Linked DNA regions of Homo sapiens: region 2 is linked to region 1. The links are contacts of gene promoters, found by promoter capture Hi-C in blood cells and fetal thymus (Javierre and others, 2016). All regions are on one chromosome and are shown on one strand. The core of a region is centred on a gene start or on the middle of the fragment in contact, and the rest is flanking DNA. Distances in the headings are between cores, read along the strand shown.

What was found. The method cuts DNA at HindIII sites, captures the fragments that hold promoters and counts their contacts. A CHiCAGO score of 5 or more calls a contact.
Region 2: the fragment with the promoter of MAP1S here is called in contact with the fragment with the promoter of PIK3R2 in region 1 in 2 of 17 cell types (fetal thymus and endothelial precursors); the score reaches 6.9 in fetal thymus.

The regions. Positions count from the first base shown.
Region 1 is chr19:18,150,959-18,157,734 of GRCh38, forward strand. PIK3R2 (phosphoinositide-3-kinase regulatory subunit 2) reads left to right here and starts at 2,205. Exons shown (of 16, transcript NM_005027.4): 1 at 2,205-2,336; 2 at 4,499-5,243. The coding sequence starts at 4,922. It overlaps MAST3 (microtubule associated serine/threonine kinase 3), which reads left to right. Exons shown (of 28, transcript NM_001393504.1): 28 at 1-729. RefSeq lists enhancers at 956-1,035, 1,578-2,470, 1,776-2,055, 5,668-6,526 and silencers at 2,166-2,545, 2,856-3,075. The HindIII fragment of the contact is 8,629 bases long and covers 950-6,776 here.
Region 2 is chr19:17,715,195-17,721,970 of GRCh38, forward strand. MAP1S (microtubule associated protein 1S) reads left to right here and starts at 4,286. Exons shown (of 7, transcript NM_018174.6): 1 at 4,286-4,426; 2 at 5,742-5,843. The coding sequence starts at 4,309. RefSeq lists enhancers at 2,316-2,817, 4,868-4,937, 5,328-5,477 and a silencer at 4,468-4,517. The HindIII fragment of the contact is 1,227 bases long and covers 4,054-5,280 here.

The DNA of each region.
Region 1 (6,776 bases), core at 955-3,454:
CTCTGCCTTGGCCTGGCCTTGTCCAGTCTACCCTGGACAAGATGCCGTGTGTTTGAGGCCCAGCAGAGTAAGCCCTTGGCCGTGATGTGTCTGAAACACCTGTTAGGGGTTCCCTCCATATGTCAGAGCCTCTCTGGGATGAAGTTCAAGCCAGAAAACCCAGTCGAGGCTCAAGTTTGAATTTCAGCTTCACTGTGTGGCTCTGGGAAAATGGCTTTCCCACTCTGTGCCTCAGTTTCCTTGTGTTTACAAGACTAATCCCATTGACTGTTTATTAAGCACCTACTGTGTGCCAAGCGCTTTTACGTGGCTTCTCCCTCAGCCAGCCTTGAGAAGGCTGGAGGTGGTGTCATCACCTCCATTTTACAGACAAAGCAGCTGAGACCCCAGCGAGGGGCGGAGACCTGTCCCACGATCACCCAGCAGGAGTCGTGGCAGAACGGAGCATCAGCCAGACCCTGTTGTGGGCGTTGTCATCAAGGGAGCTTGAATGGAGGGTCTGGTGTCAGATACAGCCGACTCCAGCCCCAGCTCATCCCCCATGATGCTGTGTGACCCACTGGGCACTCTGGTGAGGGAGCTTTCCAGACATCAACAGCCCACTCTGCTTCCCTTTCTGAGTCCCCTGTCCAGCACTGCCTAGTGTTGGAGGGTAGACCAAGGCTGTGCATGATTCACCCCCTCCTTCCATCCTGGAGCTGGCAGTGAATAAAAGCCCGTATTTACAAAGATGAGCTCCAACGTCTGGATTTGTGAGGGGCTGAGAAAGGAGGAAGGGAAGAGTGGGGAGGGGAGCGGAGTGAAATAGACCCATGGCTCAAAGTCATTGCAAGTGGGTTTTGAGGACTGCATAGCAGTTCGCTGTTGAGATTCTTCCTGATGCCATCGCTGGTACCAGCCTCCTGCTACCCTCTCCCTGCGAGTACTCCATCATAGCCCTGCCTTTAAAAGCTTCCTCCAGACATCTGGGCCCTGAGCTATGTTTTTTATTTTTATGTTTTTGAGACAAGGTCTCGCTCTGTAACCCAGGTTGGAGTACAGTGGCGCAATCACGGCACATTGCAGCCTCGACCTCCTGGGCGCCCTGGGCTATGTTAATAAAATAAATAAGCGGCGGGGCGCGGTGGCTCACGCCTGTAATCCCAGCACTTTGGAAGGCCAAGGCGGGCGGATCTCCTGAGGTCGGGAGTTCCAAACCACCCTGACCAACATGGAGAAACCCCGTCTCTACTAAAAATACAAAATTAGCCGGGCGTGGTGGCGCATGCCTGTAATCCCAGCTGCTCGGGAGGCTGAGGCAGGAGAATCGCTTGAACTCGGGAGGTGGAGGTTGCGGCGAGCCGAGATAGCGCCATTGCACTCCAGCCTGGGCAACAAGAGCGAAACTCCGTCTCAAAAAATAATAACAAAATAAGCAATCGTCGCGTCCTTTCTATCCTGGTCTTAGCTTGCGCTCTGCCATAAAACTCCCTCTAGCCGAACCCGGCCCAGCCCTAGAGCAATCCGTTACTTCCGGGGCGCTCAGCCGGCATGCAAACACTCTTGGCTACAGCCCCATCTCCGAGTGCGTTCGGCTATTTCCGGAAACCGTCGGCATCTAGGCTCAAGTCCGCTAAATTCTAGTGCCCGTAGGGGTCGAGATCGTTGGCTGTTTCCGGACGCTCTGGGTTGCCATGGAAACTCCTTCAACCCTGGCTTTCTCCGACTTCTGCTTTTTGCGGCAGGCCCTTTCCCCACTCTACTGCCCCCTGTTTGCTGAGCTTGAGAACGCCTCATTTGTCCCCTGGAACCATCTATGCTTCAGTAATTCCCATAAGCTGGCGGTCGCCTCTGGGTCTAAACTCCCAAGGCCTCCATTGGGCACTGAGCACATTCGGTTATTTCCAGAAACGCTCCGCGGTCTTGGGGATCAGCCTCAGTTGTGCCAGTGCGGCCGTAGAGAGTGTTCGGCCATTTCCGAAAGCGCTCGGGCGTCTCTAAGCCCAGCCGAGCCCAGTCTCGGATCCCTCGCCGACCCGATTGCACTCGGCTACCTCTGGAAACGCTCGGCTGTCTCGGGGGCACCCTCTAGTCCACCAGTCCCGCGGGATTACGTTCGGCTACTTCCGGAAACACTCGGGTGCCCCCTTACCTCAGGCTCCGCCTCGGCCTCGGTTCATCCGCCCGGCTCGAATGCGCTCGGGCATTTCCGCCGGGGGCGGGCCAGGCCGCTCGGAACCGTGGCGGCGGCGGAGGCGGGGATCCCGCGGCTGCGGCGACGGTGGCCGCGGTGGAGCCACGGGGCGGGCTTGGCTTGGTGTGACGGCGGCTGCGGCGGCGGTGGCGGCCGCGACCAGGTGAGTCCTGACTGGCCCTCGTGGCGGGGGCGGCTGGGAGTGTGCTTAAATGCGGGGCGCCCGGGGGCAGTGCCGGGCCCCGGTGGAAGCCAGAACGCAAGCGCCAGGCTGCGTCGGGCCCCGCGGGAACTGGGGGGGCCGCAGGCAAGGGGGGGCCTCGGGCTCGGCTCCGCAGCGGTGCAGCCTCCTTGGGACGGTCGGGGCAGAATGGGGAGAGACTCCCCGCGTCCAAGATACCGGACTGGAGCCGAGGCCCCAAATGAAGGGAGGCCCTGCCTGGAATGGGGCTTCGAATAGTACCGAGGGGCGCCCAGGCATTGTGCGGGGCAGAATGGGGTGCGGGAGGGCCGGGGGTCGAACCCACTTCCGGTCCCCTAGCCGGGTGGCCGGGTCCACGCAGACCCAAGTGCGCGTCTGTGTGAGCGCTCAGGCCCTGCCTTCACCCGCGGAGCCCCCAGCCCTGCCTGCCCCGCCCCTCCCGCCTCCCGGATTCGGGGAGCGCTGCTCCCGGGGCGCGCACACCGGGGCGTGGGGGCGGGCTGGCAGGCAGATCCAGGCGGTTTTCTGGGCATCCCCTCTCGGGGCCTCAGTTTCCCCACCTGTAGAATGAGGGTAACAGAGGCCTAGGAATGGGTAAATTGGGCACCCGAGAATGTGGCGCCCCTCCGCCCTGCTCGGACACCTCTTGGGGTTCCCCGTGACTGAAGGATGCTCAGAGCCTCCACCTGACACTCGGGCCTCTTGGTGGATAGCACCTATCCTTATAGCCACCCTGAATCCTTGACAAGCAACTTAACCCACTGCCAAGGCTTTGCATGTGCCGTTCCGTCTGCCTGTCGCGCCTTCCTATCCGCTGTGATGATCCATTCTCTAGAACAGCACGTCCATCCCCCGACCCTAGCCCTGTCCATCACAGGGCGTCTGAACCCGCAGGGCTAGGCTGGGAATGTGTGCCTATCTCCGCCTCCCCAGGCTGGGACTCCTGGGGAATAATCAATGCCCTGCTGCCGGCAGCCTCCCCTCCTCCTCAGCTGCAGTACCCCCACCTTCTCCTGGCTCCCTGTCCCTGCCTGGGGCTAAGGTTCCTTCTAAGCACCTCCCCATCTGCATTTTGTGCCTACTCTGGGCCCCAGGCTGGAGCTACCTGCCAGCCCACTCACTCCTCCTCTGCAGAGACTGGAGGTCCATTTGCTTGGACTCACCTCGAGGCCTTTGCTTGTGTAGAGGCCTCTTCCTGGACTTTGTTCCCTACCTCTTAGTTCAGCTGGCCTGACCCCTCTATGGAGCTCCCAAAGCACCCGGAGTGGCCTCCATTGCGTCCTCCCTGCCCTAGGTATCTGGCCACCTGGCTGCTGCCCCCTCATGTCCAACTGGGCCAAGTCGGCAGATCTAGGTGTAAGTCCTGGCTTCCTCCTGGCCTACTGCACGGCCCTAGATACCTCCCTGCTCTGAGCCTCAGTTTCCCCATCTGTAACAGGGGTGATGAAAAGCCTGTTTACTGGCCGGGCGCGGTGGCTCACACCTGTAATCCCAACACTTTGGAAGGCAGAGGCAGGAGGACTGCTTCAGCCCAGGAGTTTGCGACCAACCTGGGCAACATAGCAAGACCCCACCTCTATTGGAAAAAAAAAAAAAAAGGCTGGGCAAGGTGGCTCATGCCTGTAATCCCAGCACTTTGGGAGGCCAAGGCGAGCAGATCACTTGAGGTCAGGAGTTCAAGACCAGCCTGGCCAACATGGTGAAACCTCGTCTCTACTAAAAATACAAAAATTAGCTGGGTGTGGTGGCCTGCTACTCGGGAGGCTGAGGCAGGAGAATTGCTTGAACCTGGGAGACAGGTTGCAGTGAGCTGAGATCACACCACTGCACTCCAGCCTGGGTGACAGAGCAAGACTCTATCTCAAAAAAAAAAAAAAAAAAAACTGATTTACTGAGCATGTAGTATACCTGGGGCAGGTTCTTGGGAACTCTACTCCCAGCAGCTCCAAGGGAAGGCTGTCAGTATACCCATTTTACAGATAGAGAAGCTGAGGCCCTGAGAGGGACCGGCCCCAAGGTCACCCAGTGATTCAGGGAATTCCAAATCAGGATTTGGGCCCATCTCCGTGTTGGGGGTGAGAGGAGTTGGCCTGGCTAACGCTGCCCTATCCCTGTCTCCCTAGGTCGGCGTCCTCAGCTGGCCGAGCATGGTGGCAGCCTGCACCCTTGGCTCCCTTGTCTGGTGCAGCCAGCAGAGCCGCCAGCCTTGGGCGCCCATGGCCCTCCGTGTGAGGGCGTGAGCGGCCTGCCCCAGCCTCACCTGCTGATGGAGGACTCAATGGCCCAGTGACCTGACACCACACCACCAACTCCCTCCCACCAGCTGACGAATGGTGGACCCAGTGACGAGTGGCCCTTGTAAGGGTCATGGAATAATTTGAAGCGAGGCATGAGCGGCCCCTGTGGTCGCCTGTGACTGCTGGAGATAGAGGTCCCAGCACCCCAAGCCAACCCAGCGGACCCTCCCAGCCCTGCTTCAACCAATGGGGCCAGTGGGGCTCCAAGCAGCCACCTAACCATCCAGACCCCACCCCACTCACGCGGCCATGGCGGGCCCTGAGGGCTTCCAGTACCGCGCTCTGTACCCGTTCCGCCGGGAGCGGCCGGAGGACCTGGAGCTGCTGCCCGGCGACGTGCTGGTAGTGAGCCGGGCGGCCTTGCAGGCGCTGGGCGTGGCCGAGGGTGGCGAGCGCTGCCCACAGAGCGTGGGCTGGATGCCCGGCCTCAACGAGCGCACACGGCAGCGAGGTGACTTCCCTGGCACCTATGTGGAGTTCCTGGGGCCCGTGGCCCTGGCCCGGCCCGGCCCTCGCCCACGGGGCCCCCGCCCACTGCCCGCCAGGCCCCGTGATGGGGCCCCTGAGCCAGGTGAGCAGCAAGCAGGGGCCCTGGAAAGGGGGGTGGTCCCCTCAGACCCTTGGTCTCCTCTTCTGTCCAGTGAGGCAATGGGATCTCCAAGGAAGGAGGAAAAAGGACATTTGGTCATTTGACAAGTGTCTTCAGTGCTAGGCTCAGCAGTGGACACAAGGCCTGTTCCTGCCCTCATGAGCTTCTGGTTCAAGAAGGGATGAGAGTGGGTTCAGGAGGTGACACATGCCATGAGGAAGGGGGCTTGCGTGGGAAGATGCGAGGGTGGAAGCTCAAGGCAGTGGGGGCAGCGAGGGCAGAGGCTGTGGAGTAGAACTCTAATGGCGGGAACGGCCAGCAGGAGGACCAGAGGGAGGAAGGGGAGGGCAATGTGCGCTGGCATGGAGGACTTAGTGGGATTGATTTTGAGGACAATGGAGAGTGTTCAGTAGGATTCAGAGGCTCAGCCTAGCTTCATCCTGCCTTTTGCAGACAGGGTCCCTTGAAGAACCCCTTTGGAGACCCTGATTTCCAAAATGAAGCCACAAGGAGGGTAGGATGTGGGCTGCTCAGCTGAGGCCACACAGCACAGTGGGATATGAGGACCCCACATCCCTCTTCAAAGACCCTTGGCCATCACCACTTGCCAGGGGTGTGCCAGGTGTAGAGAATCGGGGGCACCGAGCCCACTCAGTGACTGCTGTTTGATGGGCAGGGAGTGTGGGCTCTGGCCGGGGAAACTGTGGCCCAGGTTGCAAGGAGGAGGCTAAGAGGTGCTGCATGCTCGGCATGGTCTGCTCCGACCCTCCCAGCAGCCCAGCAAAAGGCCCTGTGTGCAGACCGGGAGGCCTGAGTGCAAGGCCGTCAAATGCCGTACTTGAAACCAGTTGGTCACCCAGGGAGGCCAAAGCCCCGGGAGGTGCCAGGCCTGCTTTGTGCCAGGGTGACATTGCCCAAAGGCAAACCAGAGTCCCCCAGCGCAGGGCGGAATAGGGGGTGCTGAGGTGGTGCGACGCTGGCCCCAGCCTCCAGGCATCTGGTATCTCCAGGGCCCAGGCCTGCGTCCTGCCTCGGCCTGAAGGAGCAGGAGGTGGCCCCGTCTGGGCTCCCAGCCAGAATCTGCCTCTCCCCCTGGTAACAGCCACCTCCCTCCTCTGCCTGGCCTCTGTCCAGCCACCATACACGGCCCCACGTGGGGCGGCTGCCCAGCCCCACCCTCTGAATCTTCCAGGGTTATGTGACCTCGGCCAGAACCCGCCCCCTCGAGGCCTCAGTTTCCTCATCTGGAAACAACAGGGTTGGTCCCTGGGGATGCTGGGACCCAACCCCTCGGAAATGTGCTGAAGTCACCTGAGCCCCACCTGGCTGTGCACCCACGGGGGAGGTTGCAGCCCCTCTGACCCACAATTCCTCACCTGCAAAGTCGGGGTGATGCAGTTCTGATGGGAACCCCCTCCCCATTCTGCAGATTGATCCCAGGCCACTCTCAGGGTTGAGTTTCCCAACCCACCGGCCAGAGTGTCACCCACCTCCACCTCCTCCTTGTCCTTTTCC
Region 2 (6,776 bases), core at 3,036-5,535, 430 kb before region 1:
ATATTAGCGAGGGTGGCAGGACGTTGTAAATGCACTAAATGTCACTGATTTGTACACTGTAAAATGGTTAAAATGGAGGCCGGGTGCAGTGGCTCATGCCTGTAATCCCAGCACTTTGGGAGTCTGAGGCAGGTGGATCACCTGAGCTCAGGAGTTTGAGACCAGCCTGGGCAATACGGCAAAATCCCATCTCTACAAAACATACAAAAATTAGCCAGCAGAGGTGGCCTGCACCTGTTGTCCCAGCTAGTCAGGAGGCTGAGGTGGGAGGACTGCTTGAGCCCTGGAGGCAGAGGTTGTAGTGAGCTGAGATTGTGCCACTGCACTCCAGCCTGGGTAACCTGACCCTGTAATCCCAGCACTTTGGGAGGTCAAGGTGGATCTCTTAAGCCTAGGAGTTTGAGAGCATCCTGGGCAACAAGGAGATGCCATCTCTACAAAATATACAAAACATTAGCCAGGCATGGCGGCGCACACCCGTAGTCCCAGATACTTGGGAGGCTGAGGTGGGAGGATCTCTTGAGCCCTGAAGGTCAAGGTTGCAGTGAGCTGAGATCAAGCCAGTGCACCTCAGCCTGGGTGATAGAATGAGACCCTGTCTTAAAAAAAAAAAAAAAAAAAAAGGCCGGGCACGGTGGCTCATGCCTGTAATCCCAGCACTTTGGGAGGCCAAGGCTGGCCTGACACCGGGAGTTCAAGACCAGCCTGGCCAACATGGTGAAATCCCGTCTCTACTAAAAACACAAAACTTCCTGGGCATGGTGGCAGGTGCCTGTAATCTCAGCTACTTGGGAGGTTGGAGCAGGATAATCACTTGAACCTGGGAGGCAGAGGTTGTAGTGAGTCGAGATCACACCACTGTAGATAGAGAGAGAGAGAGAGAGAGAGAGACTCATTCTGTCAAGCAGGCTGGGTTGGAGTGCAGTGGCGTGATCTCAGCTCGCTGCAATCTCCACAGCCCAGACTCAAGTGATCCTCCCACCTCAGCCTCCTGAATAGCCCACAACCACACCTGGCTAATTTTTGTATTTTTAGTAGAGACGGAGTTTCACCATGTTGGCCGGGCTGGTCTCAAACTCCTGACCTCAAGTGATCCGCCTGTCTCAGCCTCCCAAAATATTGGGATTACAGGTGTGAGCTACTACACCCAGCCTGACCATGTCTATATTAAACCTCAACAAAACTGTTAAAATAAGAAAATAATTGCCAGGAGAAGATGAGAATATCCAGCAGTCCTGAGGGCTCAGGGTTCCGTTTTCCCCACAAATGCCATCATCTGACGCCTCTGGGGATGGTGACCTTGAAACAGTCATGGAGCTGGGCCAGAAACCAGAGACCAGAGTCCCATGCCTGGGATTTGAGCAGTGGTCTCAGAGGCTTCTCAGTTTCTAGGGAAATGCACCCCACATGTCCCACACCAGAGTCCTCAAGCTTGGGAAATGCTTTGGGACAGGAAGACCTCATGGCTCCAAGTACTCAGGACATTATCTCCCAAAAACCTAATGGGGGAGACCTTCATCCCCAAATCAGATCCCCCTAGTGGAGACATTTCTTCAGGCCCTGTAAGACCAACTAGTAATAGAATTAATACCAACAGGCCGGTGCAGTGGCCCATACCTATAATCTCAGCACTTTGGGAGGCCAAGTGGGGCAGATTACTTGAAGTCAGGAGTTCGAGACCATCCTGGCCAACATGGTGAAACCCCATGTCTCTACTAAAAATACAAAAATTAGCCAGGCATGGTGGTGGGTACCGTAATCCCAGCTACTCAGGAGGCTGAGGCAGGAGAATCCCTTGAACCCGGGAGGCGGAGCTTGCAGTGAGCCGAGGTTACACCACTGTGCTCCAACCTAGCCTGCTTGACAGAACAAGACTCTCTCTCTCTCTCTCAGAATGATTCTGGCAAGGGCGACAGAGTGAGAATCCGTCTCAAAAAAAAAAAAAAGAAAGAAAAAAAAGAATTAGTACCAACAATCATAATTCACAGCGTGGGCAGAAGGAAGTGGATAGACTTCCATTCAGAAGCTCCTGGGTTCGAATCCTGGACCCATCCATAAATACACAAGGAAGGAAGGAAGGAAGGAATAGTGGACAAATAGGCCTTTCAGCCCATTCCAAAAGACTTTATCATATCCCTTCTCAGATGCCCAAGCCTTGTGTTGCACAAGGCCAGGGCCCCAGAGAGGCCTCAGGCTTCCAAAAGTTTCCAGCCTTATAGGGGAGATAGTGCCCGACACAGACACTCCCACTACTATTACTGCTCACAGCAATAACAGAAGAAATCACAGGCAGGCGAGACACAGGGAAGGGAGCCAAGGGGGAGGGACAAGGATAGAGGAAGGATGCCAGAACCAAAAAGAGAGAGAGGAAGTGGAGTGCAAGAATGGTAGACGGCACGTGGCCAGTGGCTGTTACACACTGGCCAGGGAGGAAGTTGGGCTGAACAACCTAGATAATAAACGGCAGCGGGAGGCTGATTCGCCTTCCCAGATCTTTCCCATTTCTGTTCTGCTTTTCTTTGCATACTCCCGGAGACAGGGAGCTCACTCCTGAGAAAGGAGGTTCAATGTTTCCTGGGCATGGACCACTGTCCAGAAGTTCCAAGCAAGATGATTTGTCAAGTAGTAGCCCCTATGGGTCAAAGGGCTAAAGGGGGCCAGGCGCGGCGGCTCACGCCTGTAATCCCAGCACTTTGGGAGGCCAAGGCAGGAGGATCACTTGAGGTCAGGAGTTCGAGACCAGCCTGGCCAACATGGTGAAACCCCATCTCTGCCGGGCACGGTGGCTCACGCCTGTAATCCCAGCACTTTGGGAGGCCGAGGCAGGCAGATCACGAGGTCAGGAGATCGAGACCACGGTGAAACCCCGTCTCTACTGAAAATACAAAAAATTAGCTGGGCACAGTGGCGGGCGCCTGTAGTCCCAGCTACTCGGGAGGCTGAGGCAGGAGAATGGCATGAACCTGGGAGGTGGAGCTTGCAGTGAGCCGAGATCGCGCCACTACCCTTCAGCCTGGGCGACAGAGCGAGACTCTGTCTCTAAAAGAAAAGAAAAGAAAAGAAAAGAAAAGAAAAGAAAAGAAAAGAAAAGAAAAGAAACCTCATCTCTACTAAAATACAAAAATTAGCAGGGCATGGTGGCGGACACCTATAATCCCGCTACTTGGGAGGCTGAGGCAAGGGAATCGCTTGAACCCGGGAGGCAGAGGTTGCAGTGAGCTGAGATTGTGCCATTGCACTCCAGCCTGGGCGGCAGAATGAGACTCCATCTCAAGAAAAGGAAAGGAGAGGAGAGGAGAGGGGAGAGGAGGGGAGGGGAGGGGAGGGAGAGGAAGGGAGGGGAGGGGAGGAGAGGAGAGGAGAGGGGAGAGAAGGGGAGGGGAGGGGAGAAGAGGAGAGGAGGGGAGGGGAGGAGAGGAGAAGAGAGGGGAGGAAAGGAAAGAAAAGCCTAAAGAGGATTATCTGGGGAGAGAGAGGTACCCATGTGCGCAACGCAGGCAGTCCCTTGCACAGGCTGGATCTAGAGTAAGACCCACTTGGGTTCAAACCTGCTCTACCACTTACAGGCCTGGTGACTTCATCCCTCCAAATCTCAGTTTCCTCTTCTTTCCTCTGAAAGTGACCACAGTAACTGTGCCTACTCATCTGTGCCTACATACAAGCACAAAACTCATCGCTTTGTGCTTGTATGTAATGAGCTAATGCAATAAAATACCTGGCGCACAGGAGGTGCAGAATAAGTGTTGCCCTGTTCCAGGCAGGCCCAGAGTGCTCCGGTTGTGTCCCAAACACACATGTACTTTCTTACCTCTAAAACTTTGCACCTGCTGTAAACTTCTGCCTCACCAGCTCTTGCCCCACCACCCACAAGGCAAACTCCTACACATCCCTTAAAGCCCTACCTACAAGATAGATTTCTTTTCTCTGTTCAAGCCCTGACCTAGAGAGCTGGGAGCATCCATAGGCACCGGGTTCTGATGCGGCCTACTGTCATGTGATGTGAGTTCCTGGAGGGCAGGAGTTCTGACCTACATGCAGCAGGCACGCAATCAAAGCTTGTTCAATGAAAAAAAAAATGAATGAATGGTCACTTGGGAGAGGCGGCTCCCAAGCGGACACCCAGGAGTCGGCCAACCCCTTTAACGCCCGCATCCCCTGCTCTCCACGACCTCAAAGGGCCTGTAAGTGGTCGACAAAAAGGGGCGGGGATGCGGTGGTTCCGGGCGGGGTCTTCAGCCCTTCCGGTGCGGCCCCTTTAAGAGGCGGGGCCTGCGGGGCGGGCGCCGAGAACGCCGGGGCGGCCCGAAGATGGCGGCGGTGGCTGGATCTGGGGCTGCCGCGGCTCCGAGCTCACTGCTCCTCGTGGTGGGCAGCGAGTTCGGGAGCCCGGGGCTCCTCACCTACGTCCTGGAGGAGCTCGAAAGAGGTCGGGCTGGCCTGGGGGCCCGCGGGAGCCCGGGAGGCGGGCCCGTTCGCGCGTCTGGGCCCGGGGCCGGCGGGGTGGGGCGGCGGCGGCGGCGGCGGCGGGACCCGGGCTCCGGGGCGGGGGTCGCGGGCCTGGGGCTGGGTCCCCTTCACCGTTAGGCGCACGACGCGGGCAAAGGCGGGGTGCCCGTGGGTGCCCGCGGAGAAAGTGGCATCCGGGCCTGGGCTGGGCAGGGCTGCCCCGCCCCAACTCCGGGTGAAGATAGGGGAGGGGACACGGGCCTGGGCTTGGGGACCCTTGCAGTTGGACCACGGCTCCGCTTCCCGCCTGACTGGCCTGCCCGGGGGTAGGGCCTGGGGTCGCTTTGGATCTCCAGGTCTTAGCAGCTTAGATAGAGATCTCCCGGAGGGAGAAGCAGATATGGGGGAGGCTGGGCCTGGAGCCCCGGGGCCCGCTTTCTGTTGCCTCACAAGGAGCTGCTAATTGGGGTGTGGGCGGGTGCGGCCTGCCCTGGGGATTTGGCACCTAGGGAGGTGAGTCATAGGCGCACCTGCCAGGTTCACCTGCAGCCACTTGGCTCAGTGGGACTGGCGGGCGTGATGCGCCCGTGGGTGGAGATGGGTGTTCATCCCCCATCCCTCGGAGCATCTGGACCTGGCGTTTCATTGCATGTAAAATGGGACAGGAACACGCACCTCGGTTCATGTGCTTGAGGAGTGTTTAGTGAGCACCTGCTATGCGCCAGGCCTTTGGGCAGTGGACACAGGGATATGGCCGGGATGATAGACAGGTTCAGCCCTGCCAACACAGGTCTGGTTTGGGGATGGACCCAAAGCGAGTGAGGAGATGGAACAAGCTTCCAGCTCACATGGTGTCAGGAAGGATGAGAAGGCTGCAAGGGACTGAGAGGACAGTCAGTCTTAGCACCCGAAGGTGCTGAGGGGGAAGGGCCCCCTGGCCAGTAGGAACAGGTGGGGGCGGCAGGGGGATGGACTTCCAGGCAGGGGAAACAGCTGTTGCAAGGGCGGTGAGTGGAAACGGGTCTGGCAGGGCATAGGAGCAGCGAGGAGGTGGAGATGGAGGAGGTGGAGGCTTTGTTGCTGATGAATCTTGTGTGTAAAATGATGAGGTGTGCTCTGGGTCCCCTGGCTCAGCTGCAGCGAGACCTGAAGGTGTTGGGTACTTCTGAGTCTCCAAGCTGTGAGTGAAGGGAGGAGGCTGGGGCGCTCCCCACCCACGGGGTGCTAATTATTGAAATATTCTGGGAGCTGGGGGGCCCGGCTGAACTCCCGCCTTGATCCCTCCTTCCCACCAGGCATCCGGTCTTGGGATGTCGATCCTGGCGTCTGCAACCTTGATGAACAGCTCAAGGTCTTTGTGTCCCGACACTCTGCCACCTTCTCCAGCATTGTGAAAGGTGAGGCTGGGGTCCCCCTGACTGCTCCCTACCTCTTGTTATTTGGGGAAGTGCCAGCCGTGTGCCAGGCATGGGGGGTGGGATGCAGCTATAAATAACAACAGTAATAATACAGTTGAGACCTTTCAAATGCAAGCCGTGACCCAGTGATAACCCCCTCAGTCCTCAGCAACCCACAGTGCAGGAACTGGTGTTTTTGTCCCTGATTGACAGATGAGGAAATTGGCATTGAAGGGGGAAGAGGCAGGGAGATCTCTGAGGAGGGGGTTTTTTGATGAGAAACTGCTATGACTGGTGTGTCCAGTGGAAGGGAAGGGCCCCAGTCAAGACCCAGCAGTGGACAGAACATCTAGAATGAACCGGGCGCGGTGGCTTACGCCTCTGATCTCAGCACTTTGGGAGGCCGCAGCGGGCGGATCACTTGAGGTCAGGAGTTGGAGACTAGCCTGGCCAACGTGGAGGAACCCTGTCTCTACTAAGAATACAAAAATAACGGCATGGTGGCAGGCGCCTCTAATCCCAGCTACTCGGGAGGCTGAGGTGGGAGGATCACATGAACCCAGGAGGCAGAGGTTACAGTGGGGCTGAGACTGCGCCACTGCACTCCTGCCTGAGTGACAGAGTGGGAGGGACTCTGTCTCAGAACAAACAAACAAACAAAAAACATCTGGAAGGTGGAGGGGCACTGAGCAGGCCCTGGAAGATGGAGTGTGGGCCCCTTGCAGGAAGGGACTGATACTGGTTCACAGCCACAGGCCTGGGTATACAGTAGGCAGGGAACTGAAAAGGAGTGAGATCAAGAAGGGCCCAACTCAGCACGAGGCTCCCTTCTAGGGTGACCCAGGGTGAGCAGAGCAGCAGGCGGGCAGGCAGGGCTTGGGTGTTGCCTGCAGCCGCCCCCGGCTCCTGATGGTCTCTTGAGTCACCTCCCGG